7 separate regions of the Homo sapiens genome follow, and all the other regions are linked to region 1. Evidence: promoter capture Hi-C in 16 types of primary human blood cells and fetal thymus (Javierre and others, 2016). All regions are on one chromosome and are shown on one strand. The core of a region is centred on a gene start or on the middle of the fragment in contact, and the rest is flanking DNA. Distances in the headings are between cores, read along the strand shown. Region 1 holds the start of VDAC3 (voltage dependent anion channel 3). Region 2 overlaps KAT6A (lysine acetyltransferase 6A). Region 3 overlaps KAT6A (lysine acetyltransferase 6A). Region 4 overlaps KAT6A (lysine acetyltransferase 6A). Region 5 has its middle 120 kb from the start of ANK1. Region 6 has its middle 36 kb from the start of CHRNA6. Region 7 overlaps KAT6A (lysine acetyltransferase 6A).

The links. Contacts are between HindIII fragments. The CHiCAGO score rates a contact against its expected background, and 5 or more counts as called.
Region 2: a fragment that was not itself captured here is called in contact with the fragment with the promoter of VDAC3 in region 1 in 15 of 17 cell types (activated CD4 T cells, naive B cells, total CD4 T cells and 12 more); the score reaches 17.1 in activated CD4 T cells.
Region 3: a contact is called between a fragment that was not itself captured here and the fragment with the promoter of VDAC3 in region 1, in 14 of 17 cell types (total CD8 T cells, activated CD4 T cells, non-activated CD4 T cells and 11 more). The highest score is 17.3, in total CD8 T cells.
Region 4: a fragment that was not itself captured here is called in contact with the fragment with the promoter of VDAC3 in region 1 in 6 of 17 cell types (naive CD8 T cells, naive B cells, total CD8 T cells and 3 more); the score reaches 8.6 in naive CD8 T cells.
Region 5: a fragment that was not itself captured here is called in contact with the fragment with the promoter of VDAC3 in region 1 in 1 of 17 cell types (total CD4 T cells); the score reaches 5.6 in total CD4 T cells.
Region 6: a contact is called between a fragment that was not itself captured here and the fragment with the promoter of VDAC3 in region 1, in 2 of 17 cell types (megakaryocytes and naive CD8 T cells). The highest score is 8.3, in megakaryocytes.
Region 7: a fragment that was not itself captured here is called in contact with the fragment with the promoter of VDAC3 in region 1 in 10 of 17 cell types (naive B cells, activated CD4 T cells, non-activated CD4 T cells and 7 more); the score reaches 9.6 in naive B cells.

Annotation. Positions count from the first base shown.
Region 1 is chr8:42,390,609-42,394,164 of GRCh38, forward strand. VDAC3 (voltage dependent anion channel 3) reads left to right here and starts at 1,272. Exons shown (of 10, transcript NM_005662.7): 1 at 1,272-1,320; 2 at 3,237-3,276. It also overlaps a transcript of DKK4 not described here. RefSeq lists enhancers at 776-1,276, 1,277-1,777 and a silencer at 1,019-1,548. The HindIII fragment of the contact is 9,991 bases long and covers 1-2,173 here.
Region 2 is chr8:41,977,212-41,980,706 of GRCh38, forward strand. KAT6A (lysine acetyltransferase 6A) reads right to left here. Exons shown (of 17, transcript NM_006766.5): 6 at 1,431-1,566; 7 at 1-116. Among named protein-coding and RNA genes, the nearest start is that of KAT6A-AS1, 73 kb to the right of the region's middle. The HindIII fragment of the contact is 3,193 bases long and covers 606-3,495 here.
Region 3 is chr8:41,958,806-41,962,168 of GRCh38, forward strand. The region is part of intron 8 of KAT6A (lysine acetyltransferase 6A); the gene reads right to left. Among named protein-coding and RNA genes, the nearest start is that of KAT6A-AS1, 91 kb to the right of the region's middle. The HindIII fragment of the contact is 5,570 bases long and covers 1-3,363 here.
Region 4 is chr8:42,012,704-42,016,041 of GRCh38, forward strand. The region is part of intron 2 of KAT6A (lysine acetyltransferase 6A); the gene reads right to left. Among named protein-coding and RNA genes, the nearest start is that of KAT6A-AS1, 37 kb to the right of the region's middle. The HindIII fragment of the contact is 2,762 bases long and covers 73-2,834 here.
Region 5 is chr8:41,919,076-41,922,651 of GRCh38, forward strand. No RefSeq gene overlaps it. Among named protein-coding and RNA genes, the nearest start is that of ANK1, 120 kb to the left of the region's middle. The HindIII fragment of the contact is 5,707 bases long and covers 1-3,576 here.
Region 6 is chr8:42,802,597-42,806,092 of GRCh38, forward strand. No RefSeq gene overlaps it. Among named protein-coding and RNA genes, the nearest start is that of CHRNA6, 36 kb to the left of the region's middle. RefSeq lists an enhancer at 1,361-1,520. The HindIII fragment of the contact is 1,993 bases long and covers 833-2,825 here.
Region 7 is chr8:42,035,972-42,039,424 of GRCh38, forward strand. The region is part of intron 2 of KAT6A (lysine acetyltransferase 6A); the gene reads right to left. Among named protein-coding and RNA genes, the nearest start is that of KAT6A-AS1, 14 kb to the right of the region's middle. The HindIII fragment of the contact is 516 bases long and covers 1,202-1,717 here.

The sequences.
Region 1 (3,556 bases), core at 22-2,521:
CGCCTCTGCCTCCCAAAGTGCTGGGATTACAGGCTGCTTCCTTTAACCTAGAGCAGTTCACTAGCCTTTTTCCTAATCTTTCATGAAACTGACATTTTTGAAGACTGGGCAGTTGTCTTGCAGGTCTCTCAGTTTGGATTTGCCTGATTGTTTCGTCCTGAAGAGAGGCAAATTACACACTTTTACAAGAATATTATCTCTGTGTCCCTCTCTGTGCCTCACACCAGGGGCATATGTCAGTCCCTACCATCCCCCGTTTGATCAGTCTCTTTGATGTGAAGGTACCCTTTTCTCTTTAGTGAGTAATCTATGGGGGTGATACTTTGAAACCATATGAACATCCTCAACGGTCCACTGATCATTTCAGCCTGAATCAATTATTATCATGGTGGTTCCAAGACGATGATTTTCTATTTCTGTCATCTATTCTACCTTTATTAGTTGGTCTTCTCCTCTACAGAAGAGCTTTTTCTCCTCCACATCCTCTGCCCCTTTGAATTATCATCTCTCACTACTTGTGGGATCTTGAATCAATCACTTACTCCCTGGGGACCTGTGTATTCTCATCCTTAAGACGAGATGACCTAAGAGTGACACTCTTGAAGTCTGGTCAGTCTGAAATGAAATTCCCATAAGAGGCTGGGCGTGGGCTCAGGCCTGTGATCCCAGCACTCTGGTAGGCGCAGGCGGGCGGATCACTTATGCCGTGGAGTTCGAGACCAGCCTGGAAACATAGGGAGATTCCCGTCTTTACCAAAAAAAAAAAAAAAAAAAAATTAAATTAGCCGGGCGTGGTGGCGCGCTTCTGTGGACCCTCCTACTCAGGAGGCTTAGGCAGGAGGACGGCTTGAGCCCAGGAGGTCGAGGCTCCAGTGAGCCAAGATCGCGCCACTACACTCCGGCCTGCGGCATGCCTCAAACCTGGGGTCCGGCACCCTGCGGCCTTTTCGCGGCCGCACCCATGGCAACAGTTAACTAGCAACCTCGCGCATTCTCGCGAGAATGAGTCCCCTCAAGGGCACAGGTGCGGTCCCCAGCCTCTTGGGCCCCCAGTCAACCTCACTGTCCACACCGAGCCCTCCTGCGCACGCGCGCTGCGGAGCCGGACAGTTGGTGGTGCTGGCTTGGCCCGGCTGTTCGTCTCCGCGCCTTGCTCCGAAGCGCGCGACCGTGGCGCGACACGCCGGCGCACAGGCGCTCTCGGGGAGGGGCGGCGCGCAGGCGCGGCTGGGGGTGCGAGGCTGCGCAGGCGCGGACGGCGTTGGTTTGAAGACCTTCAGCGTTGCCCTGGCGGAGCAGAGACAGGCCCTCGGGGTGGAGGTGAGGAGAGCTGAGGCCGCGCGGGCTCCAGTCCCGGAGAGCGGTGGGCCGCGGCCGAGCAGAGCGCCAGGCGGGAGGCGGGCCTAACGGAGGCTCTGTGGGCAGGGAGCAGGCTACCGGGGCGCGGGGGGCCGGGGCCGCTCGCTCCCGCCGGGACCCGCCCGGGCCACCTCAGGCGATGGAGCCGCAGCACGGCGGGGCAAGTGGCCTCCGGGCGCGGGCAGCGACCTATCCCGCCGGCGTGTGGACCGCACTTTCCTCCCAGGGGTCAGCTAGAAAGGAGATCGGTTCTAGGGAAGTTGGATCCTCGAACCCCACACCCATCTCCCGCCCGCCCCTGCCCCCTCCTTACGGCCGAGGGAGGGTGCCCTGCGTGCAATTCAAAACGGAGAAGCGAGGAACGAAAAGGGCTCTGTACTGGCTGTCAAGTTAGTGGCTTTGTAAAGCAGTAGCAACCGGCTTAACGCCTTTCCCCGTCTGCGTCTCCTGCAGCCTCTGTGCAGTGTGCACATCTATGGGCAGGTGCATTCTGTAGAGCTGGTGGAGACGTGTGGTTGTAGCTTTACTCTCGAGGAACATGAAGTTTCTGTTGTTCTCGATTTTTGCTTGATCATACTAGCAGTGCATTTCCCATCAGAGTCATAGGCCTGAAAAAGTCAGCTTGAACTAGGCAGAATTGAGGTCAGTTAGTATACTAAACCAGCTACGTGACTTTTGCATAGTATCTCGTACTGGTTTTGAAAAATAACAAAACAAAATGCTGAAATATTGTAAATAGTCCCTAGACGTATATATAGTGCTTCTAAACATTTAAGTGTATCTTTTCTCGGCAGTATGAAAAACCAGACTGTAAAGCTTTAACATTTCTATTTCAATATATACTGCCTGCATTTCTATACTTACTTCCCAAATTACAGACTTCTGGCAAAATTTCAACAAATATCAACATCAGTTGTAATCATAAAGAGTAATATCAAATTGCAATTGGGATAATATAAAAAGCCTAGAATTGATCACTTTAGTACAAGGGATTGAATTGTAAAATAATCGTTCTGTAAGTGAATTATGAAACCTGGTAGCTTAGAGCAAAGTTTTACTATGGAATGAGTCAGTACATTTATACTACCGTTTCCTCTTTAATTTTTTTTTCTTTTTAGTTTTTTATACTAGTCTCTTTATATCATAGTGTCTGTCATATTTGACAGGTTTATGTTAAGGAACAAAACTTAAATGCATTCCCATTTAAGTGCATCATATGTATATGTTTGGTATGATGGGGTAGGCAGAAGCTTAGCAGAAGTCTGGATTAAGAGCTGGGCTATATATAAATAAATATGAGCTTAAATGTGTAGATCATTCAGGCGTAGCAATTGCAAGGGCTAGCTGGTACTCTGGATTTTTCTGACATATGGGCTAATGGCACTGCTAGAGGTGGCTCTGTAATTGGTTAGACATAGCTTTTGAGTCTGCGAGAGGAATACAGAAGAACCTGCTGCAGAAAGATTTCCCATGATACAAAGAGGGCAAAGGAATGAGATAATCAGCAGTGTTGATAGCTCTGAGAATTTGATATGAGGGTCATATTACCAGTAGCAAAGCTGGGCAGATTTTTAGTAGGCAAGATGAAAAATCAAGGCACCTGAGGTTTTTGAAGGCTTTAACTTCAGAGTTTACACTAACTTTTGGTAAGCAGGTTGCTGCAGGTAGAATCTGTCATATTTCTGGTTAATGGGTAAAATTATAGCACTTTAAGAAGAGCTTTGAGAGAAGATATATTCTAGATGAATACACTTCAATTCGTATGGTAAATTCTTATTTTAAGAACTGAATTTCAGAGGAGAAAAATGTTAACCCTGAGGATTTTGATTGCATCTTTTAACAGTTTCTTTAAAAATTTCCATTGTTGTCTTATACAGGTCTTTGGTTTCATAAGAGCCTGAGAGAGATTTTTCTAAGGTAAATTTTGCATATATTTTTAAAAGAAGTCCAGTTTAACATAGCATCTTTTTCATCCTGTAAGAACTTACTTTTCTTTGAAATGCAATCAGAAAGATGACCTCTGAATCTCACGGGAAAACTGTTTTATTCTCAGTATTCTGGAAAGGTCTGTTTTTTAAGGAGCAGACTGCTGTCTCATACCTTTGATTGCATTAAAGCATTAATGATACACAGGAAGAGAAAACTGTATACCCCTTCTCACAGGATTAAACAGCAGAAGAACTGTGGGTGAATAAAT
Region 2 (3,495 bases), core at 952-3,451, 410 kb before region 1:
TCCGCTCTAAATATCCTTCTTCTGATGATGATGATGCTGATTGGCTGGAAAGAGTGATTTTTCGTTTCCTACCCCTTCCAGGGCCAGTTCGAACTTTGCTGAAGGGACCTTTTGATCTAAACAATTAAACAGGGGAAAGGGTAAGTATTAAAAAAGATACTTGTAAGGTTCCTTTTTAATACATAACATATAATTAGTAAGTAACCTACAGCTTTATTAAAATCTATATTATTAAGAATATTCTGCAAACTATAAATAGTACTCTGTGAATGAAAATTAATATTATTATTAGAAACATCTATTGCCAGGAAGCCTACTTATAGTGCAAAGAATGACAGGCCAGGAGTCAGAAGACTTGTTCTAGTCATAATTCTCTCTTACTAGCTGTACGACTTGGACAAATCACATTTTTTCTAAACATATGTCAGTGCCTTCATCTGTAAAATGAGAACTGGACTAAGAACAACTAAGATCCTTCCAGGTATAAAGTTCTACTACACTGTGATCTCTGCACCAACTGAAAGTTATACTTTTATCTCTAAAACACAAGGATGGGTTATTCTTCGAAGGCCAGGAATCAAAAGATCATTTTATAGGAAAATCAAAGCTTGATTTAAGATTTTGAATATAGACTACAATATTGGTTCTGTACATTTCAGGCTGCTAATGCCCATTCATTTCAGTTATATCACCTTCAAGATAGTCTTACGTGTAAAAAAAGTAAGTAAAACTTTTGATAATAAAGGGAGGTTGACAAGCCTGAAGACGTTTACATATCATCAAAGGTGAGTTACTACAGACATTTTTAAAAAGACAAAACTAGCTACTGAATCTTGCCCCACCTCCTCCAGACATAGCCCAGCTTTCTAGTCCACAATTTCTGATTTCTGCTAATAGATGAAAACATTCAAATTATTTTACATCCAAAGAACACAAAAATGGGACTTAGCCATCACCTCAATAGGAAGAACCTATCCAGTGATTTGTACACCTAATAGATATTAACAACTGAGACAAGATCAGGAGAGTGACATGTGAAATGTCACAGTAACAACTTTTTCTTTCCTGTTTTTATATAAGAGAAGCAACATAAAGCAATGGTTAAGAGTCAGACTTTGGTGCCAGACTACTCGGATTTTCATCCCAGTTCAACATTTACTATGCCTTAGTTTCTTCCTTTGAAAAATGAAAGTAACAGCAGCAGCTATATTTCACTGGGTTGTTGGCAGAATTAAACAATTCAATGCATATAAAGCACTTAGAATAGTGTCTGGCACTTATTAAGGGCTGAATAAGTGTTAGCCATTATTATTATATAAAAGTGCCAGATATGACAATGGAATTTTTTTCATAGAGAAAACAAGTGAATCCTACACTATAGAGAAGACCCTATCCTTTTCTCCCCTCACCTTGCCACAAGTACAACTTACACCGTGTTTTGTTTCTTTAACCTGTTTTTTGGACGTCCTATTGGATTAGTATAGCGCCGTTTTATCTGTGCTGCCTTCTTTTGTAGAAGTTTTCGTCCTTTTTTCCTAGGTCGACATATTTGACATATCCACATGCCTATAAAAAAATAAAATTCCACATAGAAGTGTGACAGACATAAATACACTGAAAGGTTTCAGATAGTCTTAAGTCAGGATCTTAACTTTTTCAGGTAAAAGACTGTCATTAGAAAATCTGATGAATACCCCCTCCAATCCAAAATAAACATTAAAACATATACACACAAAATTCTACAAATAATTGGAAGAGACTCACATACACCTTCAAGCCTGCACTGGAAGTCCACTGACTGCACTTGAAGTCCACTGAGGCTGAGGCGGGTGGATCACCTGAGGTCAGGAGTTTAAGACCAGCCTGGCCAACATGGTGAAACCCTGTCTCTACTAAAAATACAAAAATTAGCTGGGCATGGTGGTACGTGCCTGTAGTCCCAGCTACTCGGGAGGCTAAGGCAGGAGAATCGTTTGAACCCAGGAGGCGGAGGTTGCAGTGAGCCGAGATTGCACCACTGCATTCCAGCCTGGGCGACAGAGTGAGACTCCGTCTCAAAAAAAAAGTTTCCTGCCTAAAGCTGCTATATAATCTCTTTTGTAGAAGTTAAACACACAAGAAAGGAGTCCTAAGGAAATGTTTCTTGACTGGGCACAGTGGCTCATGCCTGTAATCCCATCACTTTGGGGGGCTGAGGTGGGCGGATTACCTGAGGTCAGGAGTTTGAGACAAGCCTGGCCAACATGGTGAAACTGCATCTCTACAAAAAACATTAGCTGCAAGCCAGGCATGGTGGCTCACGCCTGTAATCCCAACACTTTGGGAGGCCAAGGTGGGCTCCAGCCTGGGCAACAGAGTGAGATTCCAACTCCAAAAAAAAAACCTTTCTTAGGACTCTTAGAAGGCCCCTTGCTCAGACTTCACATAAATGGAAAAAGTGGGTATTTATTCTTTAGTATTTATAAATTGAAGACGTTTCAAAAAGTAACAATCAGTAAGTGAATTCAGGCTGGGCGCGGTGGCTCATGCCTGTAATCCCAGCACTTTGGGAGGCCGAGGCGAACAGATCACTTGAGGCCAGGAGTTCAAGACGAGCCTGGCCAACATGGCAAAACCCCATCTCTACTAAAAATACAAAAATTAGCCAGGTGTCGTGGTACGCCTGTAGTCCCAGCTACATGGGAGGCTGAGGCAGAGAATCGCTTTGAACCTGATAGGTGGAGGCTGCAGTGAGCCAAGATCCTGGGCGACAGAGTGAGACTCCATGGGTGAGGGGGTGGAATAAGTGAATTCAAGTAAAAACCTAAAGTGTTAACATGACTACAAAGTACGGTTAAGTCATTTTCTATCAACAGGAAATTTTTTTCCAAACAAATATTATGAAATATCCTATAGGCATTTTACTTAAGAAGCCTATAAATTATAAAATCAGAGTTAAAATGGAATTTGTGATAGGACAAAAAGAGGGGTCTGGCTGAAGTTTTTTTTAAAGAACCTATAAGCATATGAATATGGAAGTCCAACCATGAGGCAACTATGCCCAAACTAAATACCTCTCAATGAACAGGAATCAAAAGAAAAGAGTAACATTAAGCTGCGCCCTTACAATCTGGACACTTATTTGTTCAGAATGTATTTCATTAAAACAACAACAACAACAACAAAAAACCTTTTTATTTCATAAAGTATTTCATAAAAAGGTTTTTTTTTTAAGTTTTGAATAAACCATATCTCTATAGCTCTAGGGCCCTCAAAAGTGCTAAGCAGTGATATAATCAACACGACCTAATACTATTTTATTTCCTCCTTTCAATAAAGAGATATTTCAAGATATATTTAAGGCAAGTATTTTATCTTCTAGCTAGAGACTGGCAAATATGTATAAATGAACCACTTCACCATTGATGGATGCCTAGATATTGAAAATAACAATAAATCCGTATCATGTAAGAATGTTAAGATGCCCACTCAGAAAGACTATCCCCCCACCTTTTA
Region 3 (3,363 bases), core at 547-3,046, 430 kb before region 1:
AGCTCAGATCATGTTTTTGTCAGTAACTCAGTTCAGGTCAAGTGGGACTTTATTGCAAAATGAGTTAGAAAAGGCCGGGCGTGGTGGCTCACGCCTGTAATCCCAGCACTCTGGGAGGCTGAGGTGGGCGGATCACGAGGTCAGGAGATCGAGACCATCCTGGCTAACAAGGTGAAACCCCATCTCTACTAAAAATACAAAAAATTAGCTGAGGAGCTTGGTGGCGGGCACCTGTAGTCCCAGCTACTCAGAGGCTGAGGCAGGAGAATGGGGTGAACCCAGGAGGCAGAGCTTGCAATGAGCCCAGATCGCGCCACTGCACTCCAGCCTGGGTGACAGAGCCAGACTGTCTCGAAAAAAAAAAAAAAAAAAAAAGTTGGAAAAGTTTCTTTCCATTCTCCAAAGAAGATATACAGATGGCCAATAAGCTCATGAAAAGATGCTCAACATCACTAATAATTAGGAAAATGTAAATCAAACCACAATCAGATACTACTTCACACCCATTAGGATGGTTATTATTTTTAAATGCAAAACACCAGAAAATAACAGATGTTGGTGAAGATGTGGAAAAATCAGAACCCTTGTCCCATTGCTGGCGGGAATACAAAATGGCACAGCTGCTGTGGAAAACAGTATGATGGTTCCTCAAAAAAGTAAACAGAATTACCACATAATCTAGCAATTCCACTGCTGATTATAGACCCCACAGAACTGAAAGCAGTTCTTTGTATATGGGTATCTATTTGCATACTCATGTTCATAGCAGCACTATTTACAACCCAAGTATCCACTGACAGATGAATGGATAAACCAAATGTGGTACATACGTACAATGGAATATTCTCCAGCCTTAAAAAGGAAGGCAATGGTTGGGCGCTGGTGGCTCACGCCTGTAATCCCAGCACTCTGGGAGGCCAAGGTGGGCAGATCATGAGGTCAAGAGATTGAGACCATCCTGGCCAACGTGGTGAAACCCCGTCTCTACTAAAAATACAATAATTAGCTGGGTGTATGGCACATGCCTGTAGTCCCAGCTACTCGGGAGGCTGAGGCAGAAGAAACACTTGAACCCGGGAGGCAGAGGTTGCAGTGAGCCAAGATCGCGCAACTGCACTCCAGCCTGGGCAACAGTGCAAGACTCTGTCTTTAAAGAAAAAAAAAAAAAATACAAGGAAGGCAATTCTGACACAGGCTAAAATACATATGAACCTTGGGGACATTATGCTAAGTGAAACAGCCAGACACAAAAGGACAAATATTGTATAATTCTACTTATGGTACCTAGAGTAGACAAATTAATAAAGGCAGAAGACAGAATGATGCTTACCAGGGGTGGGGGTAGGGGTGGGGGGTTGGGAGTTGTTTAATGGGTACAGAGTTCCAGTTTTGCAAGATAAAAAAGTTCTGGAAATAGATGATGGTGATGATTGCACAACAAGGTGAATGTCTTTAATGCCACTGAATTGTACACTTAAAAATGGTCTGGTTAGGCCGGGCGCAGTGGCTCATGCCTGTAATCCCAGCACTTTGGGAGGCCAAGGCCGGCGGATCACGATCGAGACCATCCTGGCTAGCAAGGTGAAACCCCGTCTCTACTAAAAATACAAAGAATGGCGAGAACCCGGGAGGCGGAGCTTGCAGTGAGCCAAGATGACGCCGCTGTACTCCAGCCTGGGTGACAGAGTAAGACTCCGTCTCAAAAAAAAAAAAAAAAAAAAGTCTGGTTAAAATAACTTTTACATTATGTATATTTTACCACAATTATTTTTTTTCAAATTTTCAGGACTCCTTAAATTTCAGGATTCTGGATATTGTGACCTATCTTTCCCTTTTCCTAAGCCTTTTTGCTCTACACTCAGACTTCTCTTTATCCATCTCCTTTGCTAATTCTTTTACCATTAAATATTGACAAAATCTAGAATTCTGTCCTCGGCCATCTTACCTTTTCCATCCGGAGGACCCATAATCCAGTGCTTCCATCAGCTTTCCACTCTCCCCACACCCTCCTTTCTCTCTACGCAGCTTAGATTCTAAGGTCTTTTTCCCTGTAATTCCACCCTTTGCATAGACCTTTAACTCTCTAGTTTCTCTTCTAATTTCACAACAAAATCCTAACCCCTGTTAAATTCAACTCTTCACATAATCGAAGTTATTACCTTAATGTGAATATGGGTGGAGAAAAACAGAGAATCATGCTACCCAGTCTCACATTATACACCTACCCACAAACCTCAAGCAGGTCCTGATGCTTCCTACTCCATTCACTCTCCCGTTCTGAAAGACAACTGCACCCTTTCTCCTCTGCTCAAGCCTCCAACACTGCTTACTCCACCTTCACTTTCAGCCAATGCTTTTGCTTCCTACTGCACTAAACTGGACAAAATCAAAAGAAAACTTCTGCAATTTTTCCCACCCACATCTGTCTGCCTCCACCTTTGTGCCACACATCCTGCCTTTCACCAATACTATGGCTAAAGATTGAGCTCCTAAGCCCACGGCTTCCGTTTGTGCATGAGATAACATCTTCCTGCTCCCTAGCCAAAGAACATCACCCAGCAGTTCCCCTCCTATCTTCTGCATCATCAGCTTTCCCTCTACCAGAGCATTCCATCAGCATACAAACAGCTGTTATTCATTCCATATTTTAAAAAGGGGGAGAGGGGTGTGTGGGCATGGTGGCTCACCCCTGTAATCCTAACACTTTGGGAGGCCAAGGTGGGCGGGTCACAAGGTCAAGAGATCGAGACCATCCTGGCCAACATGGTGAAACCCTGTCCCTACTAAAAATAGAAAAATTAGTTGGGAGTGGTGGCGCACACCTGTAGTACCAGCTACTCGGGAGGCTGAGGCAGGAGAATCCCTTGAACCCGGGACGTGGCGGTTGCAATGAGCCGAGATGGTGCCACTGCACTCCAGCCTGGTGACAGAGCGAGACTCCATCTCAAAAAAAAAAAAAAAAAAAAAAGTATCTTCTTTAGCCCTCACAGCTCTATCCAACTCTCCCTTTCTCTGCTCCTAATTACTGTAAAAAACCTCAAAACAATGGCCACATATTACTACTATAACCAATTTCTCCTTCCATTCTTTCTTGAAACCACTCCAATTATCTCTTCACCCTCCCCTGTCCCCATCATGGAAACAGTTTCTCAAGATTACTTCCTTGTTGCTAAGCTGGACAGTCAATTTTCAGTTCTCTTCTTACTTGGCCTATTTGCAGAATTTAAAAACTGATCCTTCCTTCTTACAACACATTCTTCACTTAGCTTCTAAGGAACTACACCTTCATGTTTTTTTTCCTACTTCACTGGCCATTCCTTCTCAGTTTCTCCAATCTCTAAAAGTTGGAATAACCTAGACTCA
Region 4 (3,338 bases), core at 204-2,703, 380 kb before region 1:
ATTTTTTACAGCAGCCACAGGAAACTACTGTACTATATTCACACAAAAACCTATATATGAATGTTTATAGAAAGCTTATTCATAATTGCCAAAAACTGAAACCAAATGTCCCTCAATAGGGGAAGAGATAAACAAACTATGGTGTACCTACCACACCATGGAGTACTACTCAGCAACAAAAAGGAACAAACTATTGACAACTACATGGATGAATCCCAAATGCATGATGCCAAATGAAATAAGCCAAACTTAAAAAACTATACTTGATTCCATTTATATGACAGTCTGGAAAATGTAATATTATAGGGAGAATAATAGCTCAGTGGTTTGCCAGGGTTGGGGGAGGGTGATGACTACAAAAGTCAAGTTTTTTTTTTTTTTTAGTGGATAATGGATCTTTCCTATATCTTGATTGTGGTGATTGGTTATATAACTCTATCCATTTATCAAAACTCATAAAAGTAGACACAGAAAAGAATGCATTATTGCATGTAAATTTATAGATAAATAAATATAGCAATACAGAGGGAGGTGGCTCTGTCATTTTTCTTTCTTTCTTTTTTTTTTTTTTTAGATGGAGTCTCGCTCTGTTGCCAGGCTGGAGTGCAGTGGCGCGATCTTGGCTCACTGCAACCTCCGCCTCCCGGGTTCAAGCGATTCTCCTGTCTCAGCCGCGCATGCCACCAAACCCAGCTAATTTTTGTATTTTTTAGTAGAGTTGGGGTTTCACCATGTTGGCCAGGATGGTCTCCATCTCTTGACCTCATGATCCACCCGCCTTGGCCTCCCAAAGTGCTGGGATTACAGGCGTAAGCCACCACGCCCGGCCTTGGCTCTGCTTTTTTTCAATTACAAATGCTCATGCACACATATGTATGGTCACTTCTGTATTCATCAGCATTTAAACACAATATATGGGGTTCCTTGCTCCTATCCTAACCAAGATTAATGGTCCTTCTATAATTTTCATTCAAAACTGTCCTTGATATTTACTTATTTATTAACCTATTTTATCTAAACAGAGGGTGGTTTACTTTCTAAAAAGATCACTCCACTGACTGCAGATTTAAAGGGACAAGAACAGAAGCAAGGAGTTCAATTAGGAGGCAAGAACAATGACTTAGTCAAGAGGGAAGTAAAAAGTGCTAGATTCTGGATATACAACAGAGCAGGGTTTGGCAAACTGTTTGTAAAGACCAGACAGTAAATATATTCAGTTCTGAGGTCACAGGGTCTCTGTTAAAACCACTCAAGTCTGCCGCGGTACCGTGAAAGAAGCCTTGGACAACACAGAAACGAAAACAAGTGTGGCTGTGCTCCAATACAACTTTACTTATGGACACTGAAATCTGAATTACATATGATTTGCATGTGTTTGAAATATTATTTTAATATTTTTCAACCATTTAGAATTGTTAAAAAAAAAACATTTTTAGCTCATGAACTATAAAGAGGTGGGGGCCATAATTTGCTAACCCCTGTTCTAAGGGGCAGAGCCAAAAGGATTTGCTACTGTACTAGACGTGATGTGTGAGAAAAGAGATGCCAGATATGCTATTAAAGTTAACTATGCTTTTGCTACAGTTAATTTTCATACCAAACTGTTCCATACACAGTACAAAGCAAAAGAATTTCTGGGCCATACTCTGTAATCAGCTATTATAAGCCATTCACAATCATCTATACCCATACTATATATATCCAAGGCCAAACTCCACAGAAAAATCAATTGAAGATAAAATACCAGTTAAATGAACCACATTTTTGGCTTGAGATCAAGAGGCTATGCTCTCTTTTAAAACACACACGCAGAAATGCCTCAGGCAACCAGTTTCTTAAAACACATAGATAATTAAGTCAACAAATATACCTTCAATCCACTGTATGATCAATAAGGGGCAGCAGGTTACAGCAATAAGACAAGGACAGATCGGGGGGCTAAAGAGAAGCAAGGAAAATAAGAAAACAGAAAAAGATTAAATGGGGCTCGGAGGACAGCATATTAGCACTTTTTTAATAAATAAAGGAAGAAATTCAGAGATATTACTCAACTAGAATAAGTGACCTCATATACAAGGGAGGTAGAAACTGAAGTAGAAGCTGGAGCAGTATGTGATCCAATGAAATACTTCGGTACATGCAGTTATTACATGTAGTTACAGGTTCAGGATTACTTGAAATACTTCGGTACATGCAGTTATTAAATGTAGTTACAGGTTCAGGATTACGCTAGGAAAGGATAGATTATGGGTTCAGTTCTCTAAGGAGCTGAGAAATCACTGTCCATAACTGTTCAACTACTCCTCATCTTTAAGCCTCCAGAAACACTATTTCAAATGGGATAACCAGTGCATGAAGGGAGATAGTAAGGCAGAAGAGAGGAGAACAATATAACAGAGTAGGCTATAATGTCAAAGTCAGAGGTTGTCTGCCAATGTTATCCACAAAAACTTCTCAAAGCTCACAAGTAATATGTCCAATGTGGTCTCATGCCCCTTCTGTGCTAAAAAGAATCCGGACTACCAAGCTGGCAGCCCTATGCTACAGTAAGCAGAGTTGCAATCTATAGCCAGATCCCTTCAACATGGATGAGCTGGGGGGAAAGCAGAACTAGGAAGCCAAGAGGACAGACAGATAAGGAGGTAACTATGCAAACAACTTTCCAGATACCACGACAGCACTTAAAAGCAGATCCTATACAAAGTCTTTCTTGCCTTAAGTTCAGAATACAAATTACTGCCACTCATAAAACAGCATTTGCCTGTGGGCAATACAAAGATGTAAGAGACACTGAACACTTACCTTCAAGGCGCTTACAAATTAGTGATCTAGAAAGCTTTTGCTGCCAAACCACAACCTCCTATACAGTCGTATAAATTTCAATGTATAGATAAATTTCAACTCCTGGCATATGTACTATTCTATCCTTTCAGCAGAGAAACAGGTAATAAAGGGTGAGCTAAATATGTATGTTGAAGGATATTTTTCATTTGAAAATTTAGGTTTTCAAAAAGCATTTTGATTTCATAATTTTGTAGTAACCATCTTTTTGTCCCATGCAATGCTATGAACAACTGAGCTGAACATCAATTTATCTATTCCTACTGCAATAAGCCAAAACAGCCAAAAAATCTGACGTTCACACAGGGATTTAAAAATAGCAAAGTTTGCTCATGCATATAGACACACTCTAGACATAGACTTTTCCAATTGAAACAGACTAGCTCATTTTTCCCCTTGAAGTAACTCCCACAGACATTTTAATGCAAATGCAGATGAGGCAAAGACTCTTAACTCCCATTAAATAACCAAAAGGCAAGGTACCAGGACATCAGAGC
Region 5 (3,576 bases), core at 449-2,948, 470 kb before region 1:
AGAATCAGGATGCATTTCATTCACATATTTCTTAAATCTCTTAATCTTCACCCTCCATGCCCTCCTCTCCTATTATTCCTTGTAATTGATCTGTCATTTATCCTGTGAAGTTTCTCATGGTCTAGATGTGGTTGCTTCCATCCCTGTGGTGGTGTTTACCATGTGCCTCTGTCCCTTGTGTTTTCTGTAAACTGATAAATTGAAGCACATTTAGAACCAGCATGGTTTTCTGACAAGGGTATTTTCATAGGTGGTATGAAAAGGCACACAATATCCCAGGTGTTTCTTTTTGAGATGCTAGTGGCATTTGATAATCTTTGCCTAGATCCATTATTTCATACGGGTTGCAAATAATTCAGCTCAAAATATTTTCTAATTTCTTTTTTTTTTTTTTTTTTTTGAGATGGAGTCTTGCTCTGTCGCCAGGCTGGAGTGCAGTGGCGCGATCTCGGCTCACTGCAACCTCCGCCTCCCAGGTTCAAGCACTTATCCTGCCTCACCCTCCCAAGCAGCTGGGACTACAGATGTGTGCCACCACGCCCAGCTAATTTTTAGTAGAGAGGGGATTTCACCATGTTGGCCAGGATGGTCCTGATCTCTTGAACTCGTGTTCTGCCCGCCTCAGCCTACCAAAGTGCTGGGATTACAGGTGTCAGCCACTGCGCCCAGGCATGTTTTTTAATTTCTAGTCTTCTTTGGCTCATTAATTATCTAAAAGCATTTCTTAATTTCTAAATATCTGGGAATTTTCCAGTTTTTTTTTTTTTTTTTTTTTTTTGAGATGGAGTTTCGCTCTTGTTGCCCAGGCTAGAGTGCAATGGCACAATCTGAGCTCACTGAAACCTTTGCCTCCCAGGTTCAAGTGATTCTCCTGCCTCAGCCTCCCAAGTAGCTGGGATTACAGGCATGTGCCACCATGCCCGGCTAATTTTGTATTTTTAGTAGAGATGGGGTTTCACCATGTTGGCCAGGCTGGTCTTGAACTCCTGACCTCAGGTGATCCATCCGCCTCGGCCTCCCAAAGTGCTAGGATTACATGTGTGAGCCACTGCGCCTGGCCTTTTTAAATAGATTTCTAGCACATTCACATTATAGTCAGAAGACTTACTCTGTGTGATTTCAATCTTTTCATATTTGTTGAAATATGTTTTATTGCTGTATGTATGGTCAATTTTTAAAGATATTGCATATTTTGTTATGTTTTATATTTGTCCATTAGGACAATTTTACTACACCTGTTCAATTCTTTTATATCATGATTGATTTGTCTGCTATTCTGTCATACACCTAGAAGAGTCAGCAAAATCTCCCACTATGTACTTTCCAATATACCAGCAATAAACAAGTAGAATTCAAAATTAAAAACATATCACTATTTACATTAGCATCCCCCCAACTGAAATACTTAGTTCTTAATCTAACAAAATATGTACAAGATCCATATGAGGAAAACTTCAAAACGCTGATGAAAAAAAGAAGAAATAAATAAATTGAGAGATATTCATTTCATAGAAGGAAAGACTCAATATTGTCAAGATGTCAGTTCTTCCCAACTTGATCTATAGACTCAATGCAATCCCAATTAAAATCCCAGCAAGGTATTTTGTGGATTATTGAAAAACTGATCCTAAAGTGTACAGGCAAAAGACCCAAATAACCAACCCAATATTGAAAGAGAAAAACAAAATTGGAGGATTGACACCATCTGACTTCAAGACTTGCTATAAAGCAACAATATAAGGACAGTGTGTGGCCAGGCATGGTGGCTCACGCCTGTAATCCCAGCAGTTTGGGAGGCCGAGGTGGGCAGATCACTTGAGGTCAGGAGTTTGAGACCAGCCTGGCCAACATGGTGAAATCCCATCTCTACTAAAAATACAAAAATTAGCCAAGTGCAGTGGTGGGAACCTGTAATCCCAGCTACCCAGGAGGCTGAGGCAGGAGAATCACTTGAGCCCAGGAGGCGAAAGTTGCAGTGAGCTGAGATCGCACCACTGCACTCCAGCCTGGGCAACAGAGTGAGACACCATCTCAAAAAAAGACAGTGTGATATTGGTGAAAGGATAGTAAAATAGATCAATGAAACAGAATAAAGAGACCAGAAATAGACCTACATACATATAGTCAACTGATCTTTGACAAAGGGGCAAAGGCAGTACCATGAAGTAAGGATAGTATTTTCAACAAATGGTGCTGGAACAACTGGACATCCGCATGCAAAAAAAAAAGAATCTAGACACAGACCTGATACTGTTCACAAAAATTAACTTGAAATGGATCACAGACCTAAATGCAAAACTATGGAATTACTAGAACAGGAGAAAACATAGATGACCTTGGGTATAGCAATGACTTTTTAGATACAACATTGAAGGCACAATTCATGAAAGAAATAATTGATAAGCTGGACTTCATTAAAGTTCAAAACTTTTGTCTGCAAAAGACAATTCTCACAAGAGAATGAGAAGACAAGCCACAGACTGGGAGAACATATTTGCAAATAACACATCTGATAAAGGAATCCAAAATACATAAAGAACTCTTAAAAGTCAATGATGGGCCAGGCACGGTGGCTCACGCCTGTAATCCCAGCACTTTGGGAGGCTGAGGCAAATGGATCACAAGGTCAAGAGTTCAAGACCAGCCTAGCCAACATAGGGAAACCCCGTCTCTACTAAAAATACAAAAATTAGCCAGGCATGGTGGCACACACCTGTAGTCCCAGCTACTTGGGAGGCTGAGGCAGGAGAATCACTTGAATCCAGGAAGTGGAGGTTGTGGTGAGCCGAGATTGTGCCACTGCACTCCAGCCTGGCAATAGAGCGAGATTCCGTCTCAAAAAAAAGAGTAAATGATGTGGCTGGGTGCGGTGGCTCACGCCTCTAATCCTAGCACTTTGGGAGGCCGAAGTGGGCAGATCATTTGAGGTGAGGAGTTCAAGACCAGCCTGGCCAACATGGTGAAACCCCACCTCTACTAAAAATATAAAAAATTAGCTGGGCATGGTAACCTGTACCTGTAATCCCAACTATTTGGGAAGCTGAGGCAGGAGAATTGCTTGAACGGGGAGGCAGAGGTTGTGGTGAGTCGAGATCATGCCACCGCACTCCAGCCCGGCGACAGAGCAAGACTCTGTCTCAAAAAATAACTAAAATAAAATAAAATAAAAATAAAAATAAATAAAAAATGTCAATGATGAGAAAATGAACAACCCAATATAAAAATGGGCAAAAGACCCGAACAGACATTTTGCCAAGGAAGATATACAGGTGGCAAATAAGCATGTGAAAAGATGCTCCACATCATATGTCATCAAGGAAATGCCAATTAAAACAACAATGAAACATGACTACACACCTATTAGAATGACCAAAATCCAGTGATGTCTCAGTGAAAAAAAAAAAATTACCAAAATCCAAAACATTGACAACACCAAATATTGGTAACGATGTGGAGCAACAGGAACTCTCATTCATTGCTGGTGGAAATGCAAAATAGTACAGTCACTTTAGAAGACAGTTTGGTAATTTCTTACAAAAGTAAATATTCTCTTACCATATAATCCAGCAATTGCCC
Region 6 (3,496 bases), core at 579-3,078, 410 kb after region 1:
CGCCTGTAATCCCAGCACTTTGGGAGGCCGAGGTGGGTGGATCACCTGAGGTCAGGAGTTCGAGAACAGCTTGGCCAACATAGCAAAACCCCATCTCTACTAAAAATACACAAAAATTACCTGGACGTGGTGGTGGGTGCCTGTAATCCCAGTTACTCGGGGGGCTGATGCAGGAGAATCGCTTGAACCTGGAAGGCAGAGGTTGCAGTCAGCTGAGATTGCACCATTGCACTCCAGCCTGGGCAACAAGAGCGAAACTCCGTCTCAAAATAAAATAAAAATAAAAATAAAAAACTTAGCCACGTGTGGTGATGCACACCTGTAGTCCCAGCTATTCAGAAGGCTGTGGTGGGAGGATCGCTTGAGTCCAGGAGGTCGAGGCTATAGTGAGCTACGATTACACCACTGTACTCCAGCCTAGGTAACAGAGCACAACCTTGTTTTTTAAAAAAAAAAAAAAAGTCTTATTGACATTTAAGTTGGTTGGGGTAGGGGGGGATTTGAGATGGAGTCTTGCTCTGTTGCCCAGGCTGGAGAACAGTGGCGCGATCTCAGCTCACTGCAACCTCTGCCTCCCAGGTTCAAGCAATTCTCTGCCTCAGCCTACTGAGTAGCTGGGATTACAAGCGCCCACCACCACGCCCGGCTAATTTTTGTATTTTTAGTAGAGACAGGGTTTCACCATCTTGGCCAGGCTGGTCTTGAACTTCTGACCTCATGATCCACCCATCTCGGCCTCCCAAAGTGCTGGGATTACAGGCGCGGGCCACCGCACCCAGCCAGTTTTTTTTGGATAGACACAGAAATGGACCCTTCTGGTCTTAAAGCTTGAAGCTTACGTTTGTTTTATCTGAGTTCTTTCCTCAGGAATGGACCTTCAGGCTGCTCAAAAAAAGTATCAGGGAACTGAAACTCACCAGATCACCACATCCTGACAATGAGTTGGACCCTTCATTCATCATGATTGCCTCCTTGGCCCTCCCAAGTTCCTGTTTTCTTACACATTGTTACATTCCCTCCCTGCTATAGAAACCCCTAGTTTTAGTGGGTCAGGGAGATGGATTTGAGGCTGAGTCCCCATCTCCTCGGCCATAGCACTGGATTAACGCCTTCTTCCTTGGCATTACTGGTGGTCCCAGTTCATTGGCTTTCTGTGCAGCTTGCGGCAGGACGGAGACTGAAACCCTGGTGGTTCAGTAACAGAGAGAGTCTAGCATGAATTGAGCTCAACCTCGATTTGTACAGAGGTGACTGGGAGTTTTTAAAGAGAGAATGAGGGAGCAGTGAAGTGAGTGAGCAGGGGCTCAGTAGACTGAGGGAAGTGAAAAGTTATGAAAAGCAGGAATGAGGGCCTAGTGTTACCCAAGTTAGGCTCCTATGCCCCCACCGAGGTTGGGAGTCAGTAATTCTTTTGGCAGCTTGAGTTTCCTCAGGCAGGCATTTTTCCTCTGGGGACATCCTAGAGAAGTGGCTTTAAGCTGCTAGAAACTGGGTCAGTGTTTTGCTCAACTCTTGCTAGGCCAACATTGAGGTCCAGTGGAGAAAGGGCTCAGAGGAGCCTGGCCAGAGTTTGGATAAGGAGAGTCTTTGTCAGGGCAAAACAACAGATAGCCAGGAGTGCAAGGCCTGGGTGAGACAGCCACATATTCCCCTTCCAGAGGCAGGGTCAGCCTGGCTCTGTTCCTGCTCACTGGGCCCCATGGAAAGGCATTGCCAGAATATGTTTTGCTTTTTTTTTTTTTTAAGAGAAACCTAAAATCTTAATTCTATGTGATCTCTCCTGAATTTTTAATTTTGACCAATTAAAAACACACTTCAAATGGCAGTAGCCCCACAAAATACATCCGCCGGCCAGATTCAGACCATGACCCACAATAATTTTCCTTTCTTTTCTTTTCTTTTTTTCCTGAGATGGAGTTTCACTCTGTGGCCCAGGCTGGAATGCAGTGGCGTGATCTCAGCTCACTGCAGCCTCTGCTTTCCAGGTTCAAATGATTCTGATGCCTCAGCCTCCAAGTAGCTAGGATTACAGGTATGCACCACCATGCCTGGCTAATTTTTGTATTTTTAGTAGAGGTGGGGTTTCACCATGTTGGCCAGGATGGTCTTGAGCTCCTGACCTCGAGTGATCGGCCCGCCTCGGTCTCCCAAAGTACTGGGATTCCAGACGTGAGCCACCGCACCCGGCCTGCAATAATTTTCTAATTCGGCCCTAAGCAGAAAATAGAAGATGTCTTCGGTTGCTGTTTTATTTAGGAAAATATGCAGACAGATCATTTTGCTGAGCTAGTCTGTATTGCTTAGTTGCTCTACATAAAGCAAGATATTTATGTGGCATTTGCCACCTCCCTCACCCCCCATAGAAAATAAGAACGTTCTTAGGAGTGAGTGTGAAAGCAGATTTCAGCAATGTGCCTGACGGTCTGCACCCAAGGTCAGCGAGATGGGTAGGAACTCAGGCATGAGATGGCTGCCGTTTTTGCAGTCCCACTCCCCCACTGCACCCCCATGCACATGCTGCAATAACCCTGTTGTCGGAACCTGCGGTGGCAGCCTGTTTCACAGAAGCATTGCTGTAGTGGCACCAGGGGATAAAAACCAGTTGCCCCACTGGAAAGTTTAATAATGTTTCAAAAGATCATAGTGTTACTATTAGGAACAATGAATACCAGAATGCAAATATTCATGAATAAGGAAAGCAATGGTTTTAGCTAATTCATTTTATTTTGGAAAGTGACATGTGATCAGTGACTTTAAAGGAAGCCTTACGTTTATGTGATTGCGGGTTGGGGGGAAGGTTGTTTTGTCAGACACAGCAAATACCAAGCTTCCCCTGCCACCTACTGGCTGTTCCTTGCAATGAAAAAATTCTGAATAAGATGTGGTATATTAGAACCAGAGGTTGTTGTGAAAATAATTTTTAAAAATTAGCCTGGTGGCACACGTCTGTATTTCCAGCTAGTCGGGAGGCTGCAGCAGAGAATCGCTTGAACTCTTGGGAGGCGGAGGCTGCAGTGAGCCGAGATCGCGCCACTGCCTCCTGGGCGACAGAGGAAATTATTTCTAAAGCTGGGTGGTGTGCGCATTGACATTTATGATGTTTTTTGTTTGTTTTGTTTTGTTTTGTTTTGAGACGGAGTCTCGTTCTGTCGCCCAGGAGACTGGAGTGCAGTGGCGCGATCTCGGCTCACTGCAACCTCCGCCTCCCCGGTTCAAGTGATTCTTCCACCTCAGCTTCCCGAGTAGCTGGAACTATAGGCTCATGCCACCATGCCCGGCTAATTTTTGTATTTTTGGTAGAGACGAGGGTTCGCCATGTTAGCCAGGCTGGTCTCGAACTGCTGACCTCAAGTGAACCGCCCACCTCGGCCTCCCAAAGTGCTGGGATTACATGTGTGAGCCACCGCTCCTGGCCAAGAAATAAAATATTATTAATGAAGTTTGAAATCTCCTGCATACTCCTCCCTAATTGCATCTCCCTCCTACTCAAAAGTAT
Region 7 (3,453 bases), core at 210-2,709, 350 kb before region 1:
AATGGGGTCCTGAAAAAGAATGGAGAGATGAGCCTTTCACACTTCTTTCACTGTCCTATGACAAGGTAGCAAAGCGGGCAGAAATAAGCACAGATGTATTTAGGATGGCATGAGAGGGGTATAAACTCAATGAGCTCAATTGGACAGATTCCATTATCTCTATGATGTAGCATATGGGAGTATCTACTGAAAATGAGAAAAAAAGGTGGGAAGAAATACTGAATTTCTGCAGACAGAACAGACTATACACAGACATACATCTTCAAGCAGAGGGCAGAGCTCAGATTGGAGGCCACAAATTTGTAAGTGGCATCCCACCACATGGTCATGAGATTTTCCCCAAAGTTAAAGCAGAGAGGTTGGGCACGATGGCTCATGCCTGTAATCCCAGCACTTTGGGAGGCCAAGGTGGGCAGATCACCTGAGGTCAGGAGTTCAAGACCAGCCTAGCCAACATGATGAAACCCCGTCTCCACTAAAAAAATACAAAAATTAGCCAGGGGTGGTAGCAGGCACCTGTAATCCCAGCTGCTTGGGAGGCTGAGGCAGAAGAATCGCTTGAACCCAGGAGATGGAGGTTGCAGTGAGCAGAGATCGCACCACTGCACTCCAGCCTGGGTGACAGAGCAAGACTCCAACTCAAAAAAAAAAGGAGAAGGTGGTAAATGGCTGGAGTTTGCCAACATGATGCAGGAGTAGTGAGTGAGTGAGAATGTGCCATAAGGCCAAGCAATGAGAACAGCATTAGAGTGATGGCAGGGCACCTGTCGGAATCATGCAGGTAACTTTCTCGCAACTATATACCACACAAGATCTTCTTGAGATAAAGCAGTGAGGGTAAGGAGAAAGAAAGGTGGAAGATTAGAGTAGTTATAGCCAGGGAGGACAATAAAACAGAATGTACATTTCCAGAAGTACACTGTCCTGGGTCCAAAGTGTGTTCATGAGGGTGTGTGTGAAGCATGCTATTTCATCATTTGTTTGAATGTCAATTATGAGGTTAAAAAGTACCTGCTTCTTCTGTCTTCTGACTCTCTTAGCCAGTCCCCACTACAGAGATGTTGGTTCTAAGCATTAGAGCAATGGTTCTCAACCCCAGCTGCACATCAGATAAACATTCTTAAAAAAATAAAAAATAAAAAAAACTGAAACCTGGGCCTCACTACTAGTCAAATTTAATTAGTTTGGTATTTATTTTTTAAGCTTCCTCAGGTAATGCTAAAGTGAATTTAGTGCCAAGTACCACTGCTTTCCAAAGAATAAGGCTTTGGATTTATGTTACAGAATTAAAGAAAAACTGAGTGGCATGGAAAAAAGTAAGGCAGGAAAATGGTGAAAGAGGGTTTAAATAGTAAGTTAGATATTTAAAGATGCCCTGAATAGAAAAATTGGGAAACTATTAAAGTACAGAATCACACTCCACACACAAAAATAGTAATAATGTTTCTGAGAGTTCTGTTAAAGGTTCTAGAAAACTCAGGAGTTAAATGCTTCACTGTACCCAATGACTAAGAAAAAAGGAACCTAGACTTTACTAAGCTCAAAGAATTAAAAACCAACACTTAGCAGCTCTTCAGGTCAACTACAGTTCACAATTCCCTGGAGGAAAACGCAGCCCATAGTACAAGTCTGACAACACCTCTAGATCTGCGGAATCACCTATTCTACATAAAAGGTAAACGGCAAAAGAAGCAACTATCTTCTTTAACACATTGAAAGCTTTTTTTTTTTTTTTGGCTGCCAGATTTTATTTCCACACCAGTTATCTTCTTCTTAACAAGTTACACCTATAATCTTAAAATCGCCCAGTTATTTTACAAACATCTGTCCTCAATCTTAATCTTTATTTGCCACTATCCTAATGTACTTGCTAAGTTTTACAGCAAAGCAGAAGTGATGCAGAGATGAAGTGTTAGTCATAAAGACCAATAAAGACAAAAAATGATGTGCTGTCTGCGGTCTTCCCCACACGGTCTGTTTACAAGTAACATTACAAATCTCTCAAGCTCCTCCCAGACACTATGTTTATAGAAGTGCTAGACTATACACTTTTGGTCCACCCATATTTAATGTCTTTGGTAAAAATTACTTCATTAATTAATAGAAAGGTTTGTACCTTGCTATCTCTAGCTCAGTCTCAAGAATTTTAAATTCTAACCAATGATCCAAGTCACTCAGAGGTCATTTGTGTTGCAGACCTACTGAAAATTAGACTTACCTTTAAATGGACTTTTTTTCCCAAAACTCAAGGAGTACTTTTTCTTCCAGCATTAAGGTAGCTCAACATGTTCCCCTTCTAATATTTAGCCAACAACATAAGAAAACCTTGATTCCTCTAACTTGGGCCATAAGAAAGCAGTCTTTTCCCAAAAAGTTGTTTCAAAACTCTAACAAGAGTGTATAGCTATTTTCACACACTGAAATAGCAGATTTATATATTTGTGGTTTACGATACCACCAATATTCTCTAGACAAGGTTTATTCTATGGTTTCCATTAAGGAAGAGAATTCTAACTAAATTATTTTAGGCTCACTGCTCTCTAATACTATAAAGCAGTACTACAGCATAATGAAAAAAGCACAAAATTGAGAAGGGCCTGACCAATTCTTCCAGATGGTATTAACTGGCTGTGTGGCACTGGACAAGACACTTCAACCTCTTTGGCTCTCAAATTTCCCTATTATTTGTGAAATCAGATTAGAATCACTGTGATCCAAGATTGCTACTGGCTGAACATTCTACACAATGCAGAAGATACAAGTCTTTTTTTCTAATAATCTATGTTTCGTAAGCATAATACAATTCAACCATAAAAGATACCTCAATCAACACTACAGCCAGACTTACTTTTCCTTAGCAGTCTTTTTTTTTCTTTAAATTGCTGACAGTTAAAAACTATTTTGACCCAGAATGGCATACTACTATAATCTCTATGCTTAATTTCAACTCCTAATAAAATAGTGCCACACTACAAATGGTTTCTTCACCTGTTCCCTAATGAAGTTGAAAATAATTCCTTGGCCTTGAATTTACAGATACATGTACAGGGCTGATGAAAGCCATCTGCTGGGAACTATGACTTTCATATGAAAGGAAAAAACCAGAAGGAACTGCTTTCATTTTCCTGGGAACCAGCTGCAGCTGAATGAGTCCTAATCCTGCTCCAGCTGGGACAAGCAGAAGGGTGAAGTTACTCCTGGTCTAATTCATTCGCTGCAGATCCTTTGTGAAATGACTCCACCCCTGAGTAGCCAAGTGGTAAATAACTTTATCAGAGTGAAGCTCTTAATAATTCCTATACATAAATCAGAGCATGAAAAGTATTCATTATTATAATTTTAAGAAACACTCTCCAGGTCACCAGAAAAAAATAAATTTTTAATTCTATTTAAACCAGCAAACTCCGCACCTAGATTTAGTCCTCTTACATAGCTAAGAACCAAGTCAGTATG